Linked DNA regions of Homo sapiens: region 2 is linked to region 1. Evidence: promoter capture Hi-C in human tissues and cell types (Jung and others, 2019). All regions are on one chromosome and are shown on one strand. Each heading gives the region's core, a stretch centred on a gene start or on the middle of the fragment in contact. The rest is flanking DNA. Distances are from core to core; before and after follow the strand shown. Region 1 holds the start of HTR1B (5-hydroxytryptamine receptor 1B). Region 2 overlaps LOC105377862 (a long non-coding RNA gene).

Region 1 (3,877 bases), core at 1,078-3,577:
CACTTAACACTACAGAAAAGTATAAGTATTAATTATTTACTTGTTCATGTAGTTATTGTCTGTCTCTTCTAGAATGTAAACTGCTGGAAAAGAGGGTCTGAGTCTACTCCCACTGGCCTCCATACCTCGGATGCCTAGAAAAATACTCAGCATAGAGTAGGCACTCTATTTTTTGCCTGCTTGCCTGGTTTAGAGAACCGGGAATTAAGGGAACTTGGGTTTGTGCTTTATTGCCTTGGGTAAAAAGCTCTTCTTTCAAAGGATCTCAATTACTCTTCCTCTAAAACTGGGTGGAGGGATCAGATCAGATAGCCTTAGGTTCTGACACAGAATGATTCTCTTTAAAATATATGTGCGCTTAAACAGATGAATTCATTTACAATGCAGTTTTTATTAGATACACTCTAGGTGCCAAACATGGATCTAGGCTCTAGGAATTCGTAGTGGGGATCATTTAATCCTTCGAGCTGAAAATACCTTGTCCTTTCCTGGAGCTTTTCTTCATACTTTCTGATTTGCATCTCTACCCTACATTTGTTTCTGTTGAGGTCAGAGGAGAAACTGAGGACAGGGGATCCGTCCCTGGTCATGAGACCTAGGTACTGGTATTGCATGCTGCAGCTTATGGCTGACATTCCCACATATTAGTTGAAGGCAAAGGAGACACACAAGATGGTGCTGATGATGGTTCCAGTCCTCCCCGCCCCACCATCCCCCTTTTTTCTTGAATTCTGATGACCTCCTTTCTAGGTAGGCTGTTGGAAGGAACACGCTTACTGGCAACTGTTTTCCAGAGGCACTGAAGCACTGAGCAGCTGGAAGAGGATGGTGGAGCAGAAGGTTTAATTTCACATACAGTTGGCTTCTGTTTGTGATAACTTTTACATTTTCGCAGATAGCTTGTCTTTTTCCCTGTTGACTCATAGTTGAGTGAAAAACACAAATTTCTAAAACTAGATGAAAAAATAGTTTTTATTGTATCAAGAGTTAAGGACGGCAAAGTACAAAATGCAAACATTGGGCCCTCTACAGCGATATTACTGGTGCCTCCTAACCTGGGTGTGGCCATCAGGGCTGGATATGATTTTAGAGCGGAGAGGTCAGAGACCAGGGCTTCCCCGCCTAACACTGGCCTCCTAGGGTGGGAGTGGTAGGCAGGAGCCTAGGGCCAGACTGCTGGACTAAACCTGTGACCATGGCTAAGGACATGGGTCTCACTGGAGGTCAGCGCAGCAAGCTCTGATGTCCGTAGAGGCGAGAACAGGACGCCTTCTTCCCCTGACCAGAAATGCAGCTCCAGGTTGTCAGGGCTGGGAGGATGGCCCAGGGTGGGAAGCGGGGAGATAGGGCGGTAGGACCCGGCGGGAGCTTCCTTGGCCAGGAAAGGAACAGGGCGGGGGGAAAAGAGGGAGGGAGAGAGAAAAAGGGAAGGTGATGGGGAGCGGGCGTCCGCACCCGCCGCGCCGCACGAGTTGCACTGCTCTGGCGGACCGGACCTGGACTCTATATAAAGAGCCCATCTGCTCCGTAGCTCGCACGCTTCTCCCGGGCTGGTGCACGCCGCGTCCCTCCAGCTCCCCCAGACACCTGCCCCTTCCCAGTGTGCCGCGCCAGGTCCTCCAGACCCGCGCACCCAGTGGCATGGCTCCGAGTGGCTCCCGTGGGACCAGGGTGGCGGTGGCGGCGGCGCGGCCCGAGCAGCCGCAACTCCAGCCCCCGTGTCCCCCCTTTTATGGCTCCGTCTCCGCGGGGCAGCTCGTCCGAGTGGCCAGAGAGTGAAAAGAGAGGGAGGGCAGAGCTCCGGCGCGAGGCGCGGCGCAGCGCTGCTCCTAGACTTCACCCCACCCAGCTCTGGCGGCCGCTGCAGCCCCCCAAAAGTGCCCCAGCTTGGGGCGAGGGGTGGGAATGCAAGATCTCGGGACCTCTCGCTGGCCTGCAAGCTTTGGTCTCTACACCTAGGAAACTCCTGTGGGCAAAGTCTGCAGATCCAAAAGCGTCCAGGTTAGGAGACGCTCAGCCTCAAGCAACTGGGGTAAGAGATCCCATTTGGTCAAAGCCTTCTCCTCAAGCAGTACTTCACCCTCCTGCACTAGACGCCTCCAGGGAGCTGGAGCGGAGCAGGGCTCGGTGGGCCAGCTCTTAGCAACCCAGGTCTAAGACCCGGTGTGGAGAGGAACAACCACAGACGCGGCGGCTTAGCTAGGCGCTCTGGAAGTGCAGGGGAGGCGCCCGCCTGCCTTGGCTGCCGCACCCATGACCTCTAGTTTCAGCTGTGAACCTGGGCGGAGGAATAATTGAGGAACTCACGGAACTATCAACTGGGGACAAACCTGCGATCGCCACGGTCCTTCCGCCCTCTCCTTCGTCCGCTCCATGCCCAAGAGCTGCGCTCCGGAGCTGGGGCGAGGAGAGCCATGGAGGAACCGGGTGCTCAGTGCGCTCCACCGCCGCCCGCGGGCTCCGAGACCTGGGTTCCTCAAGCCAACTTATCCTCTGCTCCCTCCCAAAACTGCAGCGCCAAGGACTACATTTACCAGGACTCCATCTCCCTACCCTGGAAAGTACTGCTGGTTATGCTATTGGCGCTCATCACCTTGGCCACCACGCTCTCCAATGCCTTTGTGATTGCCACAGTGTACCGGACCCGGAAACTGCACACCCCGGCTAACTACCTGATCGCCTCTCTGGCGGTCACCGACCTGCTTGTGTCCATCCTGGTGATGCCCATCAGCACCATGTACACTGTCACCGGCCGCTGGACACTGGGCCAGGTGGTCTGTGACTTCTGGCTGTCGTCGGACATCACTTGTTGCACTGCCTCCATCCTGCACCTCTGTGTCATCGCCCTGGACCGCTACTGGGCCATCACGGACGCCGTGGAGTACTCAGCTAAAAGGACTCCCAAGAGGGCGGCGGTCATGATCGCGCTGGTGTGGGTCTTCTCCATCTCTATCTCGCTGCCGCCCTTCTTCTGGCGTCAGGCTAAGGCCGAAGAGGAGGTGTCGGAATGCGTGGTGAACACCGACCACATCCTCTACACGGTCTACTCCACGGTGGGTGCTTTCTACTTCCCCACCCTGCTCCTCATCGCCCTCTATGGCCGCATCTACGTAGAAGCCCGCTCCCGGATTTTGAAACAGACGCCCAACAGGACCGGCAAGCGCTTGACCCGAGCCCAGCTGATAACCGACTCCCCCGGGTCCACGTCCTCGGTCACCTCTATTAACTCGCGGGTTCCCGACGTGCCCAGCGAATCCGGATCTCCTGTGTATGTGAACCAAGTCAAAGTGCGAGTCTCCGACGCCCTGCTGGAAAAGAAGAAACTCATGGCCGCTAGGGAGCGCAAAGCCACCAAGACCCTAGGGATCATTTTGGGAGCCTTTATTGTGTGTTGGCTACCCTTCTTCATCATCTCCCTAGTGATGCCTATCTGCAAAGATGCCTGCTGGTTCCACCTAGCCATCTTTGACTTCTTCACATGGCTGGGCTATCTCAACTCCCTCATCAACCCCATAATCTATACCATGTCCAATGAGGACTTTAAACAAGCATTCCATAAACTGATACGTTTTAAGTGCACAAGTTGACTTGCCGTTTGCAGTGGGGTCGCCTAAGCGACCTTTGGGGACCAAGTTGTGTCTGGTTCCACAGGTAGGTCGAATCTTCTTTCGCGGTTTCTGGGTCCCAGCGAGGCTCTCTCTCCTGGGCAAGGGCAATGGATCCTGAGAAGCCAGAATAGTCCTGAGAGAGAGCTCTGAAAGGAGAAGTGTTGAAACTAAATGTAGAGCTTCCCTGCCCAGGAGGAGGCTCACTTCCTCCCCTCAAGCCCCGGGCTCAGCACTGACCCTGCGGCAGCCAATCCCAAAGGGGGTTGCAA
Region 2 (3,731 bases), core at 873-3,372, 480 kb after region 1:
ATGATGACATTAAACAAAATGTCCCCTCAACAAAAGCATTTGAATATTGGACACTAAAAATTTTCACTAACTTTTAGACATATAGGCATTAGTTTCCAGCTCTCCAGAAATGGTCACCCACTTTGCATCTACAAGATTGTTTTGGTAGACCAGCTATTTGTCAATTAGGTCCTTTGGATCTATAAATTCATCATATAAGTGGCCCATGCCAAAAATTTTCAATAGTTTTTAAATACTCTGAAACACATTGAATATTATCATTAGTTAAACCTCTCTTTCTCAGGGAAATGGTTTTAAAACACAAAGTTAATTCAAAAATGTAAAAGTTGCATTCTAAAAAAGTCACGGTTTTAGTAAAGTGTGAAAGTTGTGCTTAATTTGGCTGCTTTTATCTGGTGACATGTTTTTGAGTTCTGAAGCAATCTTATTTCCAAAAATGTTGTCTTTGTGTGTGTGTGTGTGAGTTTCTATTACAACCTAAACATAACATTAAACAACACAAGCATAGTCAGTTCATCCTTTTCTTGGCAAGTGATGGCCTCCTTAGAATCATCCGTTTGGAGAAACAAAATGTAAATTTCTATTTTTCTGTAATCATTTACTTAATTCTTATATCCATTAATTTTTAAATTGGAAGACACTATTCTTGTCCCACAGTTTAAAAATGTCATTTTATGGCAGAACAATATTTTGACATATTTTCTATGGCAGAAACTAATAAGCATTTTGTAAATATATATCTAAGGAGACTATCTCTTTCCATTTTAATAAAGTTAAAAAATCTCATTAAGTGTTCCTGTGCATTTTGAGGAAACTAAAAACTAAACAAAAAATTTTATGAAAACCTCAAAATCACAGGTAAACAAGTTATACTCCCTTTTGGAGTGTCGTGTACAAGGTGTATAGGACATTTAGTAGATAAGACCTTTCAGGTTTCCTTGATGAAGAAGTTTATAGACTTAATTACATTTGCCAACATTTACATTTTTACTATTTGCCAAATATGCAGATAGAGAAGAAAAGTATACTGTGTATTTGGACAAAAATATCCATAATCTTTAGTTTTATATTTTCTTACATTTCATTTAAACCTTTATAGAAATCAAAAAGGTGATTTGAGACTCTATCACTCAAATAAATGTTCCTTCTAATTGTTTGAAACGAATATTCTTGTTGTTGCCGTGATTCAAAAAAACTAATGCAGTAACAGAAAACCAAATACCGCATGTTCTCAGTTATAAGTGGGTACTAAATGATGCGAACACATGGACACATAGAGGAGAACAACACACAATGGGGCATTTTGGAGGGTGGATGGTGGGAGGAGGGAGAGGATCAGGAAAAATCACTAGTGGGTACTAGGCTTAATACCTGGAGATGAAATAATCTCTACAACAAATCCCCATGGCACATGTTACAAATGTAATAACAAACCTGCATATGTAACCCTGAACTTATTAAAATAAAAGTTTTTAAAAATCACTTTATATACTCTGGAAAGCATGATCTTCATTAAGATTTTAAGGAATCTCCATACTGAAGGGAGCACCACATCTGTTATTAAAATTTTCTCTTCAGTACTTCCACAGAACATTTTAATTGCCAGTTTTGAATAAGGAAATGTATATTTATTGAGTTTCATACAGCAATCAAAGGAACAGTACTTTAATATATGTTTGATCATGTAGTATCCCCAAACAAATTCAGTCACCCTTATTTTTATCTGAGCATTGGTTTCTTTTGGGGAGGCTAAAAACTTTTTCTTGGCTTGAAGTATCTGCCTATTGCATGTTGGACTTCAAAGCTTCCATCTTCCTGTGTGCTTTCTTATTCTCTTCTCCCCTGTGTTTAAGCCCAAATTCTTTTTTATGTATTGTACACTATGCTCTGTTTTGATTATTTATCCCCTTATTCCAGTCGTGTGTGTCCTTTCATTTGTTATTCAAATTGCCCAGTAATTTATCCTACTTTTTCAGTGATGTCTTCTGCATGCTTGTTTTCATATTGCAATTGCTTCATAATTTTAGTACTTAGAAAACATGGTCACAATATTCACAATGTTGAAAGCTAAAGTAGCACTAAGCATAACAGTCAATCCCTGGGCAAAATCAAAGATGAACTGCTAAAGGTCATAATTATTAAATTGCACATTTAAGTCATATCAATCAGTGTGATGAATCATGGATGATTCATTGTCATGAACTGCAAATCATATAGTATTCACTTGAAACTAAAAACATGGGTGCTTTCAGCCACTATTTTGGAAAATACAGCATGAGTTTTGTACATTTCCATCAATTTTTTGCCCCATCACCAAAAAGCCAAAATTTTCTGCCTCCTAGGGAGGGGTTTCTGGAAAGTAGGTTAAAACTGGAACAGACCCGGCCGGGCTCTGTGGTTCACACCTTGTATTCCCAGAACTTTGGGAGGCTGAGGCAGGTGGATCGCCTGAGGTCAGGAGTTCAAGACCAGCCTGACCAACATGGAGAAACCCCATCTCTACTAAAAATACAAAATTAGCTGTGCGTAGTTGTGCATGCCTGTAATCCCAGCTACTCGGGATGCTGAGACAGGAGAATTGCTTGAACCCGGGAGGCGGAGGTTCCAGTGAGCCGAGATAGCGCCATTGGACTCCAGCCTGGGCAACAAGAGTGAAACTCCGTCTCAAAAACAAACAAACAAACAAAAAACTGGAACAGACCCAGGCAAAGTGGGACAGTTGATGACCCAATCAGCTAGGCAGGGACTACTGAAAATTGAGTATGGAGTAGAACACTGAGAAAAACCTCCAAAGTTAAATTAATCTTGCATTTTTAGTATAAACCACCATTGTATATAGTATAGACTTTTTATGTTTCCAGATTGTATTTGCTGATAATTTGTTAAGAATTGTGTTAAAGAGTTTTGAATGTATGTTGATAGGGGATATTGGTCTATAGTTTTATTTTCTTATGATATTTTTGTCTGGTTTTTATACTTCGTTAATACTGCCTTCATAATATGAATTGGGAAGTGAATGGATCTAAGACGACCAAAATGTCCTCTTCCTTTCCATTCAGATTCTATCATCTTATTCTAGGTTTATTTCACCAAACTGGTCTTTTTCAACACTTCTAATTTCCTGTTAGGCATCTAGTCATCTCCCTTATCCAGTCCTACTTGCATACCACTGTCAATTCAATGTTAAAGATGCACAAATTTTATATCTTTATTATTGTATTTAAAGGACTCCTGGTTTCCTATGTAACAAAATAGAAATATTTTTTTAACATCACATCTAAAGTCCTTCACCATCTGTAATTTTCCTTTGGATCTTCAAATTCTTTATCCCAGCAGTTTTTAACTGAGCTGCATATTAAAACCACTTGTGGAACATTTTAAAAATAGGTTACATCATGTCGTAAATTATGTTGTTGCCGTTGTGGCCTCCAAGTATGCACTGAGCAAGCTATTTAAGAGGTCACAGAATTGAAAAGTTCACAGACCAAACAAAAATTCTTGAAAGGGTTGGTAATTAAGTCAATTTAAACATACACTGAGAAGCAAAGAGACAAAGATGTATGGATTATCACATTCATAATAACATACAAGCAGGAAGGACTCACAACTGAATCCTGACGTGTTCAATGATTACATGTGTTGTATCTCTCTCTCTGCCACATCAGGCTTCCCCACTGATGGTACGGTCATAAGGACCAGAATTGTTTTAAGCAATGGACCCCTCATATGGA

Evidence for each region. Contacts are between HindIII fragments. The study calls those that stand out against the background at their distance.
Region 2: a fragment that was not itself captured here is called in contact with the fragment with the promoter of HTR1B in region 1 in 2 of the 25 tissues and cell types used here (dorsolateral prefrontal cortex and mesenchymal stem cells).

What each region holds. Positions count from the first base shown.
Region 1 is chr6:77,461,941-77,465,817 of GRCh38, reverse strand. It overlaps HTR1B (5-hydroxytryptamine receptor 1B), which reads left to right and starts at 2,327. Exons shown (of 1, transcript NM_000863.3): 1 at 2,327-3,877. The coding sequence starts at 2,415. The coding sequence ends at 3,587. The region is part of intron 5 of LOC105377864; the gene reads right to left. RefSeq lists a silencer at 3,317-3,461. The HindIII fragment of the contact is 6,434 bases long and covers 1-3,877 here.
Region 2 is chr6:76,983,219-76,986,949 of GRCh38, reverse strand. All of the region lies in intron 2 of LOC105377862 (a long non-coding RNA gene), which reads right to left. Among named protein-coding and RNA genes, the nearest start is that of LINC02540, 390 kb to the right of the region's middle. The HindIII fragment of the contact is 7,110 bases long and covers 1-3,731 here.